Linked DNA regions of Homo sapiens: regions 1 and 3 are each linked to region 2. The links are contacts of gene promoters, found by promoter capture Hi-C in human tissues and cell types (Jung and others, 2019). All regions are on one chromosome and are shown on one strand. Each heading gives the region's core, a stretch centred on a gene start or on the middle of the fragment in contact. The rest is flanking DNA. Distances are from core to core; before and after follow the strand shown.

Region 1 (4,563 bases), core at 1,390-3,889, 36 kb after region 2:
AGCTTGGAAACCCACAACTCGCCTTTCTTGAGCGGCCAGACTTAGGATTCTTTACGATACTAACCTGTAATTTACACATTACATTATATTATATATTTTATATATAATTATATTATTATATATTATACTGGAATTTACACATTTTGATTCCGCCTGTAATTTGCCCTTGGAGCTCCGATGCCATAAAATCCATGGGATCTGGCAGAGGAACCCCCACCTCACCCCCTAAGGCCCCAGCTCTCCCTGAACTTCCCTAAGCTGCTACAAATAATCGCGTGGAAGACGGCCAAGAATAACCAGAAAATAAACACAGCTCCCCCGGCCCTCTGAACGCAGGCCGCGGGTCCCTCCAGGCCCCACCTGGCTCTTCTCCGGCCTAGGGGAGGCGAGGAGGCCGCGCCACGATCTCTGTACTCATTGTTCCCATGGCGCTGCCCTTAACCCTCGAAGGACTGCTCCCGGACCTCGATTCCAAGCAGGGTGACCCTCTGGCCTTTGTCCCCGCTGTCTTTCCTAGCAGGAAAACTGTCGGGAATTCAACCTCTGTCAAAAAATAAAAACAAAAAACAAGAACAAACACCCAAACCCCAACAACAAAGAGAGAACGCGGACTCCAGACAGTTTTCTCCTTTCAACTCTAGAACTTTCCCGGAAACATAAGACACCCAGTGCTCATCGTTACACCCTTAGGTCTGCGCCTGCGGGTGGGGGCCACGGGCTGTGCCGGAGCGCATAGCCGCGGGTGTGCCCTTAATTTTCATATATATAATGAAGTGTCTGCGCGCTAACGCGCCTGCAAATAATGTGTGTGCGCAAAGACGTTTCTGTCTACAGATAATTACGCGTAAATTATCCGTGGCAAACAACATATGCAAACGACATATGCAAACAACATATGCAAACGATTATCTATGTGCAGATAATTCCATGCCCACGAGCCGACAGATTTGCAATTCTCAAGTACTTCTATGTGCATGTAATTCTACGGGCAAATTGTTCCGAGTGCAAGGGATTTGGTGTGTGTGTCAGTGATTGCACCGCTGAAAACAATTCTGTAGATGTGTCGATGCCTTTAGAAGAAAGGGCTCCAAAGAATCGTGTCTCGATGGTTGGTCAGCGCGCGCATCTGCGGCACTGGCTAAATCCCGGGAAGCAGCGCGGAGAAACAAAAAGTGCTTTTCTTCCAGCCATGCCTTCTCCCTGCGGAAACCGCCTGCTCCCTGCGCCGCACGGAAAGCAGAAGGCGGAAGGGTGGGTTAGGTGTTCTGGGTTCTCCGGCCTCCTCCAAGCTTCGTGCTCGGTGAGGTACGGCGCGTTCAGGTTGCTGCATCAGTTTGCACAGCGCTGTGCCGCGCTCAGTCGGGAATTGCCACAGACGCCCGATTTCCTCGGTGCCATGTGGGCTCCTAGCTGCCGCCACAGAGCGGCCGGATCCTACCAGGGTTTCCCAGTGCCCGGGTACCTGCAAGAATCTTCCCAGGACGGGAGCAGTGGGCACTGAGCAGCGCTGCCGGGAGAAAGATGTTGCGTTTTGCCAAGCGCTCACCCGCGCTTCAAAACCCCAGTCGGTAAGACCTTGCGTCCCCCACGGGCACTAAAATGGCGAAGCACGTCCTGGCTAACGCAGTCTGTCTCTTACAGCACGCTCACGTGCGCCTAGAATTATAATACAATATAACACATCGTAATATCGGATATTATACCACGTTTACCTCCCATTAGGATGTGTATATTGTGTTAGGCTGTGCTTATGTGTTTGTTACGACGTGCTGTGATACTGTATCTTTCAGTCTCACTACCACGTGCCACGCACCTACTCGTTTATTTCATTCGCACAATGACCCTGCAGGTAGGAGTCATTTCCAGCACTGCCTACTCCAGGCCCAGAGAGGGGAAGGCACTTACACAGAGTCACCCTGCAAGAAAGGGGCAGGGCTTGGACTGGAACCCACAGCCTGAGGACTGGCCTAGGAGTGAAAAGCAGACATCCACCAACATAGCTCGACACGAAGCTTTCCTACGCCACACATTGCTGTTTCTGGAATAGCCCAACAATATATATTTATTTTATTACATTCTCACCATCTGGCTGAGAGGAGCCGCTACCAGCGTGCATGCTGCAACCTGTTGGCTGAGGACCCAGTATGGACAGGCCTCCAGTTCTACTACAGAACAATCTTGATCCAGCCATTCCCTCCTCCTGCCTCCTTCATTGGCTCCTCCTAACAACCCTAAGAGGGGAGTACTGTTATCACGGTTCACAGATGAGAGCTAGGTTCAGAGAGGTTAAATTGCTTTCCCAACATCACTTAGCAAGTGAGGGAAGAGGTTCAGCTTCGGCATTCAGACTCCAGAGCCCTTGATTCTGAAAGCTGCATTTCCAGACCCAGACCCGCTCCGAAGTGTCCCCAGTTTAATTCGAGTTGAAGAGTTGATGGAGGACCGCCAGTGGGAAACAGGTTCTAATGAGGATATATTCTTAATGTTTGGGAGTTGGGCACATCCTTGGGATGCAATAGAATCTCTGGATGTTGCCTCCCGTGGGGAGGTGTTCCTGAACTCCAATTAAAGTCTTTAGAACCAGCATCATGGTCCAGGACCTCATTGTAATTAGCTGGAGATCTGCAGGCTGCCTTCCTGATGACAGGGCTGAGGACTGATCCTTCACATATTCCAACCTTTCCTCCTCTTTGTGTGCTGCTGGAGGAGGAAGAGGGTGTGCACACGCTTGGACATGTGTTTAATCCCCTCTCCAGCTGCAAAAGTCAGGAGTCTCTGTGCCCTCAAAAATATCCCCAACAACTGGAAGACCATAACCAACCACAGCCTTTAAGGAACTCCCAGAGCAGGGACTTCTGGATCTTCTCTCAAACTTCCCTGTCTCTAGGCAGAGATCTACACTGGTGAAATTAAGGGAAGGGAAAGGAATCAAGATCCAGTCCAGCTGGATTATGTGGACTCCTGCCCCAGGCAGCCACATATTTCCCACCACCACCACCCACCCATACCAAAGTTGTTGGGGGAGACTTTGTGGACAGATTCACTGGACTTTGTTAGTGTAGAACCAGCCTCTATCCTTGAGGTCTGTCATAGATTACAAGATGCAGGGGCCTGAAGAAACAAAAGTGTTAGAAATTGGTGCTTTCTGGGGAAAATGGGATCCACTGGGATTGAGATCCAACAGACATTTCCTAAATAGAAAACATTGACACGGTTGTCCCAAACCCTAGCCCTGTTCCTCTGCTGCCCAGTGACCTTGGTTCAACACACACAAACACAAACACAGACACAAACACACAGCCTCTAAATGCAGGAAGAGAGTTTCAAACAAATACAGGAGATTTGTTTTGTTTGCCTTTCTTTCTTTCTCTTTCTTTCTTTCTTTCTCCTTTCAAGGTAAAAGGGGTGTATTTACACTTCTCGTGACATAATGGAGATGAAAGAAAATTAGAAAATTATGTGGAAATTTTGGCCCATCTTCTCATTTCCCTTATACACTTAATTATCTGGAAATTTGGGAAAAGTTGAGACATCTAGTGTGTGGATGACCAGAGAGATTGCTTTAATTCTCTAATTTGGGAAACCTGGTGGGGCTGCCTCTGAAGCTCTTCTTCCAGCCATGAACATACTCAGAAGCCCAAGAAGCTCAGAGAAGATGCCAAGGTAACCACCACTCTCATCACCACACCCATCTCTCCCTCCCTTCTCCATCACAACCTTGGGAGCATTGTGGAATTTGCCAGGGAAAAATAAATCCAGAAGTACTGTATCAGAAAAATTCAGGAGAGTGAGCAGGCATCCAGCCACAGCTGGAGAGCAGAACACTGTGCTAATACAATCTGGACGGTTGTCCCCATAACAGCAGATGTTGACTACCTGGCAAATCCAGGAAATTCTGGGAAATTCAGTATAACATTTGGATAATTGACAGTTTTGCCTAGGTAATTCAAGAGACTCATGATGGAGGAATCCGTAATTAGGCAGCCAATTCAAACCTCTCTAAACGAGTTTAGGTTAGTTTAAGTTAGCTGTGTTTTGTTTTAATTCAGAATGCTCAGTTTTCACTGGAATTTCCACCTGGGCCACACTCACGGAGGCAGAGAACAGCCCGTCCCGGTGGCCACTTTTCTTGGCCAAGCCCCCAGAGCAAATCCCTGGGGGCCCTGCAGGGCTAGAGTGGAGGCCACTGGGAGGGGAGGGTCGCTGGGGTCGCTGGGCGCGCGCGCGCGGAGCAAATTTGCCCGCGCGCACCCAGAAACGATGACATAAGTGGCGCTGATGAGCGCTGCGCGGCTGAAACGCGACTACATAAAGGGTCCGCCGGCAGCGTGGGCCGGAGGGATTGCTTCACACTCCGGAATTGGGCCCAGACACATTTAGAAATGTTTTGCTGGACGTGTGCCCCGCAAGGGCGACAGCGGCAGCCGGCAGCCTGGGTGAAGCTGCGCCGCTGGTCACAGGCTGGCGCGCGGCGGCGGCCACAGAGGCGTCCTAGGTGGAGAATGCTTCTGCCTTTGCCTGTTCTCCCCTAACCCCCACGTTTGTATGCCTCCTGGGGACAGG
Region 2 (4,533 bases), core at 115-2,614:
TTCTCTGAACTTCAGCCAGGCCTGGCCTGCTAAAACTGCAGGCTCAGGCTCAGGATTGGCGAGGACAAAATCATTCTCGGATAAGTCCTAGGCTGGAGACATTGAATCTGCAGCCCGGGTCCCCGCAATGCATAGAACGGCCCGGGTTTGCAGGCGTATGAGCTTAGAACACACAAAATAACTGCCGCAGAGCTGTTCAAGCCCGATGAGCCTGTCTCCTGCTCTCTGATCTCCTTCCAATCTCTTCTATACGCAAGTAGGAATTCCCCCTAGAACGGGAAGACTTTGGGAAGCGGGCACAAGCGATGGTCCCCCAAAACCTCAGCAGCTGCTTAAGCAAGCGGCCAGATCCCACCCTGACCTGCTGTGGCCAGAGATCTAGAAATGGGGCCGAGGAGAAGGACAGCTTCTGAGGCCTGACTTGCAAGCAGCTTTCTTCGCCTCGTTCTCGGGGCTTCAGGGAGGCGGCGACTGGAGCCCCGCTGCCTACTCACAACAAAAGAAAGCAGGGCTGGCGCCCCTACACGCGCTCCCATTCACTGCCGGCCGCGGGGAGAATCCTACCCCGCGCCCTCGCCAGGGTCCCGGGGAGCTCTGGGCTGGCGGAGGCGAACAAGATGCGGTTTGACAGAACCAGGCCGTGCTTCTGCAAACCTCAATGCCGCTCCGCCAGCCGCGGCGGCCTCCCAGACTCCATTTGCCGGGGAGCTCCGAGCCGCGCAAAATCTCTGCAAGCTGTGCTCTGCAGAATGCAAAGCCGGGCTGGAATCCGCCATTCCCGCCGCCCCAGCCGACTCGGCCGACGAGCTCCCTCCTGAGCCTCCCGGGCCATCTGCCGGGACGGTTACCTCGTTCGGTGAAGCCGGTGCATTCACCACATCCTCTGCTGCTCCTAGCAGGGAAGCCGGCGGTGAGGCGGGGGAGCAGGCATGGTGGCTCCGGGGTTTATGCGGGGTTTACTGCTTACCCAGAATAGCGGCTACTGCTGCCTACTAGGGCGCACCTACCGCTGGAGCCTCCGCGGCGACTGCCCACCTCCAACACACACCTCCTCTGCTGTGCGCTTGCTCTCCCTAAATACTTCCCAGTTGGCAAGCGCCAAAGAACACAAAATAGCCTCCAAGAGCACCGGCAACCATATAATCTCAGTGCCCCGCTCCTCCTTTACACCCCCAGGGAGGGAAAGTTGGAAGCCCAGTGAATGGTCGAAGTCCTTTCTGAGCGCAGCTTTCAGGATTAAAGTTCCCGGATTCGAGGTAAGAGTCAGTCTCTCTCACTCTCTCTCCCTCTCTCTCTCTCTCTGAAATACAAGCCAACTCAGCTGAGCACAGTGACGTTGGGTTGCCTCGATGCTCACAAAGTACTGAAATCGCCTATCCAACTAGCTCCCACTGCACTCTGTCGCCCTCCCCCTTCTCTCTCCCTCCCACCCTCCCGTCCTCCCTTCCCCCCACCCCAAATTTCCACTAGATTTCCCGAACACTCAAATCACAATACGACTCTCAACACAGACCTGCAATAACTCCCTCCTCTCTACCCCTTTCCCAACCTCCATCCATCTCTGCTTCTCTGAGCAAGCGGTGGCTGCAAAAACTCCTGCACAAATCATTTCAAACGCGGTCGGCTTCTAATCGGGAAGTAATCTCAGTGACGCTGGCGGTGCAGAGAACCGAGTCTGGACGCACACACACAAACACACCGCGGGCCTCCGCAGCCTTGCAGACATTCTCTCCAACGCTGACCTCGAGAAGGAGAGCTGCCTGACCCCGCCTGGCCGGCGCTCGCCTTCCTGACATCTCCCCTCCACCCCCTACTCATCACCCCTACTCTCAACGACTCTGGGGTGAAGGCAGGGTGAAGGTGCATTGGGATGGGGGCCGAGATCAAAGATGCTAAGAAATCGCTGCGGGCCCTCACCCCCCACCCAGTGGGGCCACCAGACGTCCCCTGCTCCAGGTGTACACAAGGCAGTGCCCAGTTTTATTAAAATAATCAAACAGTCACTGGGGACTGGCTAGGGTTTTCATCTCCACTGGTCTCCTCTCCTTGCCCTTTCCCTCTCTGAGATGTATTTTTTTTTTTTAGGGTGAGTTGAAGAGGTCAATAAAAGCACAAACACAGTCAGTAGGTCTCAGTCTGAGCAGACCCAGATTGGGACACCGAATATTGGTGCTTGGAGTAAATGTCAGGAGTCCTGTTCTGTTTCCCATCCTTACCTCCTGTACCCCCATCATACTGATTTTTCTAGGGTTCTGATAAGAGACTTGGGCCTGCAAGTCAAGGTCTGGAGAAAGGGATGGAGGGAGGAGAAATGCCCCGAGGTCAGCAGCTGTGTAACCCTCTGTGACTGCTCTGCTAAAATCCCAGGCCAGGCCATTGCTGCAAAATGCCAAAGTGGAGAATCTCCAACCCTGAATGTGGGGCAACCGGGGAGAAAGCCAGCCCTCCTTTGCTATGGTGCTCACTCCACCTTCCAGGTTTGTTTGCAAACAGATATTTTCCCTTTGCCCAGGCGATGTATTTATTTGTGAAAACACCCTCACCCTCCAAGTCAGCTTGGAGGCCTTTAGGCTTGCTGGCAAGGCGACCCTAGGCCGAAGACACGAAAAACAAACATGGCATCGGAAGAAGGCTGAACCGCTACATCTCCAGTAGAGGGAAAGGGAAATCCAGAAAGACCTTCCCAATCCCTTTAAGTTCTCAGAGATTTGGGGATAAAATTAATTCCCATAAATAATCTTCAGGCCCCTCCAGAGAGGAAAAATCTGGACTCTCCCAGGTAATAGCCCAGCCAGATTTGCTTAGCTCATTGAGCACAGATGGTCTGGGCCACCAAGCAAAATAGGGATTTTCAAACCTTTCGAGAGAATCCATTCTTGCCAGGTGACACACGAAGCCATTCTTATTTCGTTCATGAGAAGTAGCAGCACAGCAAGAGAAGATTCAGCAAGACTAAGACGGGGTGAAAAGCCAAGGAGGGCCAAGTGCAAAGAGAAACCTATTTCCCCCCTCAGTCCTCCAGGGTGAAACTCACCTCCAACTATCCCACCTCTTCTTTGGAGCGCAAAAGCCAGGAGTGCGCCTCGCTGGAGAGCAGGGCTCAGGTGAAGACTTTGAAAAGGACCACCAAAAGAGACCTCTTTAGGCCAGGTCTTCTTCCAACGTCTGTCAAGAAGAGCACGTACCTCCCAGCTCAAGGTTGGTTTGTGGTCTCCGACAAATTAAATATTACTGTTTATTACCAGGCATACCCCAGTAAAATAAAGAGGCAACCAGGCGATAGCGACTATCTCACCAGCCGCTGCACCTATAGGACTTGGAGACGTCACGAGTCACGCAACCGGCCCGCGCGCTGTCACGTTTGGCTGGGGGGCAGCGGCGGGAGGTAAATTTCTCTCCGTCTTCGCCTATCAGTGCCGGGTCTGCGCAGCCACAGGTTCCGGACGTCTTGGCCCCGGGAATAAATAAAGACATAAACCAACCCGGCTTTCTCCGGAGGAATGAGGGTGATGAACATAAGACACAAATAGAGCCAAGATCGACTTTCTTAGGAAGGGGGAGAGGAGGGAACTCTTCACGAAGGGAGGTGGGAGTCCACCTCAGACCTCTATTGGAAGGAAATCGAGTTGTTCCGGGGGACTGAGGTCTCTTGCATAAGGCATGGGATCCTTATTATTATTATTATTATTTTTAAATCCCCCGCGGAGGAGCTCTGGGCAAATGAATACCGAGGCGCCGCTCTAGCTGGTTAGGCTTGGGATGCGATAACTCAGTGCCCTCTTGCAGACTTGCATAGAAATAATTACTGGGTTGTCGTGGAGGGGACACGAGACAGAGGGAGTTCTCCGTAATGTGCCTTGCGGAGAGAAAGGTCCAAGAATGCAATTCGTCCCAGAGTGGCCCGGCAGGGGCGGGGTGCGAGTGGGTGGTGGAGTAGGGGTGGGAGTGGAGAGAGGTGGTTTCTGTAGAGAATAATTATTGTACCAGGGCCCGCCGAGGCACGAGGCACTCTATTTTGTTTTGTAATCACGACGACTATTATTTTTAGTCTGATCAATGGGCACAATTTCTAAGCAGCGCAGTGGTGGATGCTCGCAAACTTTTGCGCACCGCTGGAAACCCACTAGGTTGAGTTGCAAAACGTACCGCGTAGACGCCCCTGGTGGCGCCGAGAGAAGAGCTAGGCCTGCCCAGCACAGAGCCGGAGAGCGTCGGGCCTTCCGGAAGGGTAAGTTCTCCGCCAAGGGGTCCCGAGGGAGCTGGACGTCTGAATCTGGACTTGCCCCCAGCTTCGGGGTTCGATTCTGGGTTTTGCGCGTCCCCAACCCCCAGGGCTTTCCGAAGCATGGCCTGGCTCCAGGCCCGGTCCTGTAAGGACTGGAACGGCAGCAAAATGTGCAGGGAGGCAGTCGGCCGGCAGAGCTGCGGCGGGAGCCAAGGTCAGGCCCGCGGGGAGAGCGGGCAGCTTCCAGCGCCGGCCACAAGCTCCCAGGCCAGCTGGGCCGCAGACCCCTTTGCTTCCAGAGAGCACAA
Region 3 (4,790 bases), core at 186-2,685, 46 kb before region 2:
TTGTTACAAGTAAAAAAGGAAGAATAATAAGAAAACGGCCGGAACACATTTTGGAAAATCGTAAAATTATACATTCCAGTCTTTAATACCCCAAAGATCTAATGCAGAGCACTAAGAAAAACTCAATCTTGGCTTATTGATGAAAGCAGGTCCTGAACATTCTCAAATTCCTCTCAGGCCTCATCACATTGTAAAGAAATTCCAACTCAAGGATCCAAATTTCAGGTCAGTCATGATAAATGCTCTGGATGTAATCTCTGTGTTTATTTTGGTTATGGCTCAGTTTCTTTCTTTTTTCTCTTCTTTGAGAGCCCAATAACTGTTCAACAGCAAAGACCTATCTCCAGCCAAGTCATGATTAACTTTCAGGGTTGGTAAATGGGCTATACTTAAGTATCAAGTCTTCTGATGAGATGAGTCCACAACTCGGCTTCAGAAAGTTGCATATTAAGAGTGGTCAGTTATATTGCAACTATCCTAAACCGAAATGAGTCTCTTAGGTAACAGTAAATTCTTCCTGATTCTGACCACTCATTATGGCATGGCACTGTAGAAAACCCTAGTACTTTGGATTTTTCTAGATATTTTTGATTCCGGATAAAGTGAATTTAGTAATGCATCCAAGGCACAGATATTAAGGCACAGAGTTACAGCTCCAATGCTCGCTCGCCATGTGACTGGATGAATCACCAGGTCATTCCAATCTCAGTTCTTGATTGTAAATGGAGATAATACCTGAACTTTTTATGAGATTTAATTGAGGTAATAATGAGGGCAGTTGAGTTTTTATCTTCCTTGCACATAAAGCATTCAAATCTTGTCTGTCCAAATGACCTGGGTCCATTCTCTTTTCCCTCTTTCTCTTTTGGAAGACTGGATAGATAGCTTTCTGAAAGTTGTCCCATACTTAATAGTATTTGGGTAGATTACAGAGCTGGAAAGCTCACAGAGTGCTTTTAAATACTAATCCTATTGAGCAAATATTTTCACTATTCCCAAATGGGTCATTTCTCTTGCCAATTCAGTTCATTCAGATGAAGAACCATTGGCGAGTCTTCCCAGACAGAGACCCTGAAACTCAGAGTAGTAATCTTTCTAGCTGAGTGACCTTCAGCAAGTTGGGAAGGTGGCTATAATTCAGGTCTTCTGACTCACAAAGCAGTGCTCATTCTGACAGATGGCCCCAGGCTTTCCATTTCACGCAACCCTACATGCTCAGCCAACATGAAAAGGTAGCAAACCTTGACTCTTATGGATGAGTGGGTGGATGAGTAGATGGATGGATGGGAGGATAGATGTATGGGTGGGTGGGTGGGTGGATGGATGGATGAATGAATGAGTGGGAGGATTGGTGGATGAGTGGGTGGATGGATGGGTGGTTGGATGGGTGGATGGATGCATGGATGGGTGGGTGGGTAGATGGGTGAATGGATGGGTGGGTTGATGGATGAGTGAGTGGTTGGGTAGGTGGATGGATGGGTTGATAGATGGGTGGGGGGATGGATAAGTGGGTGGATGGATAAGTGGATAGGTGGGGTGATGGCTGGATGGATGAGTGGGTAGATGGATGAGTGGGTGGATGGATGAGTGAGTGGATAGATAGATGAGTGATGGATGGGTGGATGGATGAATGAGTGAGTGGGTGGATGGGTGGGTGGATGGGTGAATGGTGGGTGGATGGATTGGTGGGTGGGTGGATGAGTGGGTGGATGACTTTTTGTTGTTGTTGTTTTTGTTGTTGTTGTTATTTGTTTTTGGTGTCCCCATGCTCTTAGCATAAAGTAGGAAGGGTTGGAATGGTATTGTGCGAAGATTCTCAACGAGAAATCAAAAGACTCAGTTTGAAACATCACCTAGTCACTACCTGAAACCAATAAATTTACTTACTGGCTTATTATATGTCTCATCCAGTAAGAATTCAAGTTTCTTGAGAGCGGGAGCCTTTTCCACCATGTCCTCCACTTATCCCAAGCACCTAGCACAGTGTCCATTATACATTAAGTGCTCAATAAATAAAGATTAATCTGATGCATCCATCCCAGATCTGCCAATCATCAGCCACATAAGCTTAAAATCTAACCCTGTCTCTTGGTCCTCCATTAGATCCCTGCAAAATAGAGATGGGTGGCATCTCCCCTAGTCCAAAGACTGCTGCAGGGAACTGGAGAATCAGCAAAGGAATGGATGTGAAATCGCATTTTAAAACATAGCACTCAGAAAATGCACCCTGCAAAGCCCTTTTCCATATCGAATTCCCCTTCCCCTCTCAATCTCTAACTTTCCTTTGAATATCTGATTCAGCTCATGGCTTTGCTAGAATCTTTATTTGGGTTGCTTTTAGTTTCTAATGCGAGTGGGGGTGAGAGTCAGGGGTGAGAGGGAGAAAGACAGACAAGTGCTCTCCCAGGCCCTGGGGTCCTGGATTTGATTGAGTGGCATTGATAAAAGACCTTCCCAGCTTTTTTGGCTCAGTCCATCGGGAGAGATAGTTTGGAGACAGCCGGTTCCAAACACAAGGAGCCCTCCGGCCTGCCTGGCCCTGTGACATTTCATTGGGCCTGACTCCTGGGCTCATTGGAAAGGAGACAGACAATGAGGGGAAGTCAGATAGTGGGGCAGGCAGGGGCCAGGGGGAAAACCACCCATGGAGTTATCACTTAATGAGAATCCCAACTGGAAGGAAACCTCGGCTGATTCCTTATCACTTTACAGTGTGGAGGCTGATGATGAATTGCTATTTGTTGTCTCCTAGGCAGGACAGAGAGCCCTCGGTTGGAATGTTCCCTGTCACTGGGAGCTCCCTTTTGGGGGTGGAGGGAGGTGAGAAGGGCAGAGTTTCTGGAAAGGTGAAAGGATTTCTCCAGGGTGCATACCCCATTCACCCTGAGCCCACAGGCCTCAGTATACATCTCAAGCTGGGCCACTCACGAGCTGAGTGACTTTGGGTAAGTTCCTCAGTGTTGGTTTCCAAATCCACAAAGAAGTGGGGTAATTCTTCACCTTGTTATCGCCAACCAGCCACTAAGGCCTGATTCCACCCACATCTCCAGCTTCTCCCCACACCCTGGTCGGAGCCACCATCTCCTGTTTCAGACCCCATGACAGCCTTTCAATGGGTCTCTGGTGCCAACTAAATAGTCCTGTGCTATCATAGCACAGTGACTGCTTCCAAATAAAGAACTTAGGCATGTTACTCACAAATTTAAATCCCTCCAATGGACGTGCACTGGTGGTAGGATAAAATCTGACATCTTTCATTAAAATGGCTTATACAGGCTGGCATCTCACTGGTCCCTGCCTTCCCCTCTAGCCCTCATCCCCCACCACTTTGCCCTTGCCTTGAGTGCCAACATCTCAGCCTTCTGTTCACTCCCCAGGGGGCAGGCTCTCCCTCAGCCAAGGGGCTTCATGCATGCTTTCCTCTATGTGTGGATACCCTCACACCTCCCCCTTCTCCTATCCAGCACTCAGTCTCCTCTGATCTCAGCCTCAATGCTTCCCTGATTGCCTACCCTAGACTGACACTCCAGTTTGATATTCCTTAACACTTTGCATATCTCCTTTATAGCATTCAATCATTTATTTTATTTTATTTATTTATTTTTTGAGACAGGGTCTCTCTCTGTCACACAGGCTGGAGTGCAGTGGTGCAATCACAGCTCACTGCAGCCTCGAACTCCTGGGCTCAAGCAATCCTCCCATCTCAGCCTCCTGGGTTGGCTAGGACCACTGGCATGTGCCAACATGCCAGACTAATTTTTTATTTTTTGTAGAGATGGAGTCTTACTATGTTGCCCAGGCTAGTCCCAACTCTTGGACTCAAGCAATCCTCCAGCCTCAGCCTCCCAAAATGCTGAGATTACAGGTGTGAGCCACAGTGCCAGGCTTCACAATTTCAATTAAGCAATTTATAATTACTTGTATAATGTCCAACCTGCTTGCAACCGTATGAGCTTCACAAGGGCAGGCCTGTGGCAAGCACATGTTCATTGAGCACTTGTAGGTGCCAGACACTGTTCTAGGTGCTTTCTGTGGATGATCTCATTTCCCCTCATCACAACCGTATCAAGCAGGTGCTATTGTTATCCTCATTTTGCACAAAAGATAGTTGAGGCCCAGAAAGGTAAAACAACTTGCCCCTGGGCACACAGCTGCCAAGTGTCGTCAACTGTGAGTATTACTACAGTGGATCAGCCCCCAACTCCAGCTTCCCCAGTGGCCACTCCAAGTTGATTTTAAGCTCATCCAAGGATCCAACAAACAGTCCATGAAAGTCAAGTCATAACCTAAGAGGTTTGTGAACCGTGCATTCAAAGCCTCCCTGCCGCATCCTTCAGGGATGCATTTATAAGGATGCTGCTGTAAATATTGAACCTAAAAAGCACCATGATCCTTTTTAACTTCTTCCTGCCTGTCTTTTGGTCTGGCATTAATTTAATCGATTAGAGCTCCCGAATTCAAACCTGGTGAGCTCTTAATCAGCATGTTTGACCCAGTCTCAAAGACAGATCTTCAGTGGAAAATGAAATTTTGAGATTGTAGCAGATGAGCAAAGGTAACCAAGACGGTATAGAGTAGTGGTGAAATGCACACGTATAGAATCTGCAGACCAGGCTGGGGTTCAAGAACCACTGGCAGTTTTTGTTTGGAACCTTTCTGAGCCTCAGTTTCCCCATTGATAAAGTGGGTTAATAATAGCATCTACTCCATAGTGTTGTCGAAAAAGCTTGATCTGGGACTTAGGAAGGGCACCCTTAAATATAATATAAAACAGAATCTCTATTCAGGGA

Evidence for each region. Contacts are between HindIII fragments. The study calls those that stand out against the background at their distance.
Region 1: a contact is called between a fragment that was not itself captured here and the fragment with the promoter of TBX5 in region 2, in 2 of the 25 tissues and cell types used here (H1 embryonic stem cells and spleen).
Region 3: a fragment that was not itself captured here is called in contact with the fragment with the promoter of TBX5 in region 2 in 1 of the 25 tissues and cell types used here (H1 embryonic stem cells).

What each region holds. Positions count from the first base shown.
Region 1 is chr12:114,439,644-114,444,206 of GRCh38, forward strand. The region is part of intron 1 of LOC105369998 (a long non-coding RNA gene); the gene reads right to left. Among named protein-coding and RNA genes, the nearest start is that of TBX5-AS1, 34 kb to the left of the region's middle. RefSeq lists enhancers at 621-1,243, 1,244-1,865, 3,814-4,317. The HindIII fragment of the contact is 5,965 bases long and covers 1-4,563 here.
Region 2 is chr12:114,404,780-114,409,312 of GRCh38, forward strand. TBX5 (T-box transcription factor 5) reads right to left here and starts at 1,365. Exons shown (of 9, transcript NM_181486.4): 1 at 849-1,365. It overlaps TBX5-AS1 (TBX5 antisense RNA 1), which reads left to right and starts at 3,416. Exons shown (of 3, transcript NR_038440.1): 1 at 3,416-3,506; 2 at 4,049-4,228. RefSeq lists enhancers at 567-1,253, 1,292-1,792, 4,513-4,533. The HindIII fragment of the contact is 27,288 bases long and covers 1-4,533 here.
Region 3 is chr12:114,359,077-114,363,866 of GRCh38, forward strand. The region is part of intron 8 of TBX5 (T-box transcription factor 5); the gene reads right to left. Among named protein-coding and RNA genes, the nearest start is that of TBX5, 45 kb to the right of the region's middle. The HindIII fragment of the contact is 3,921 bases long and covers 1-3,396 here.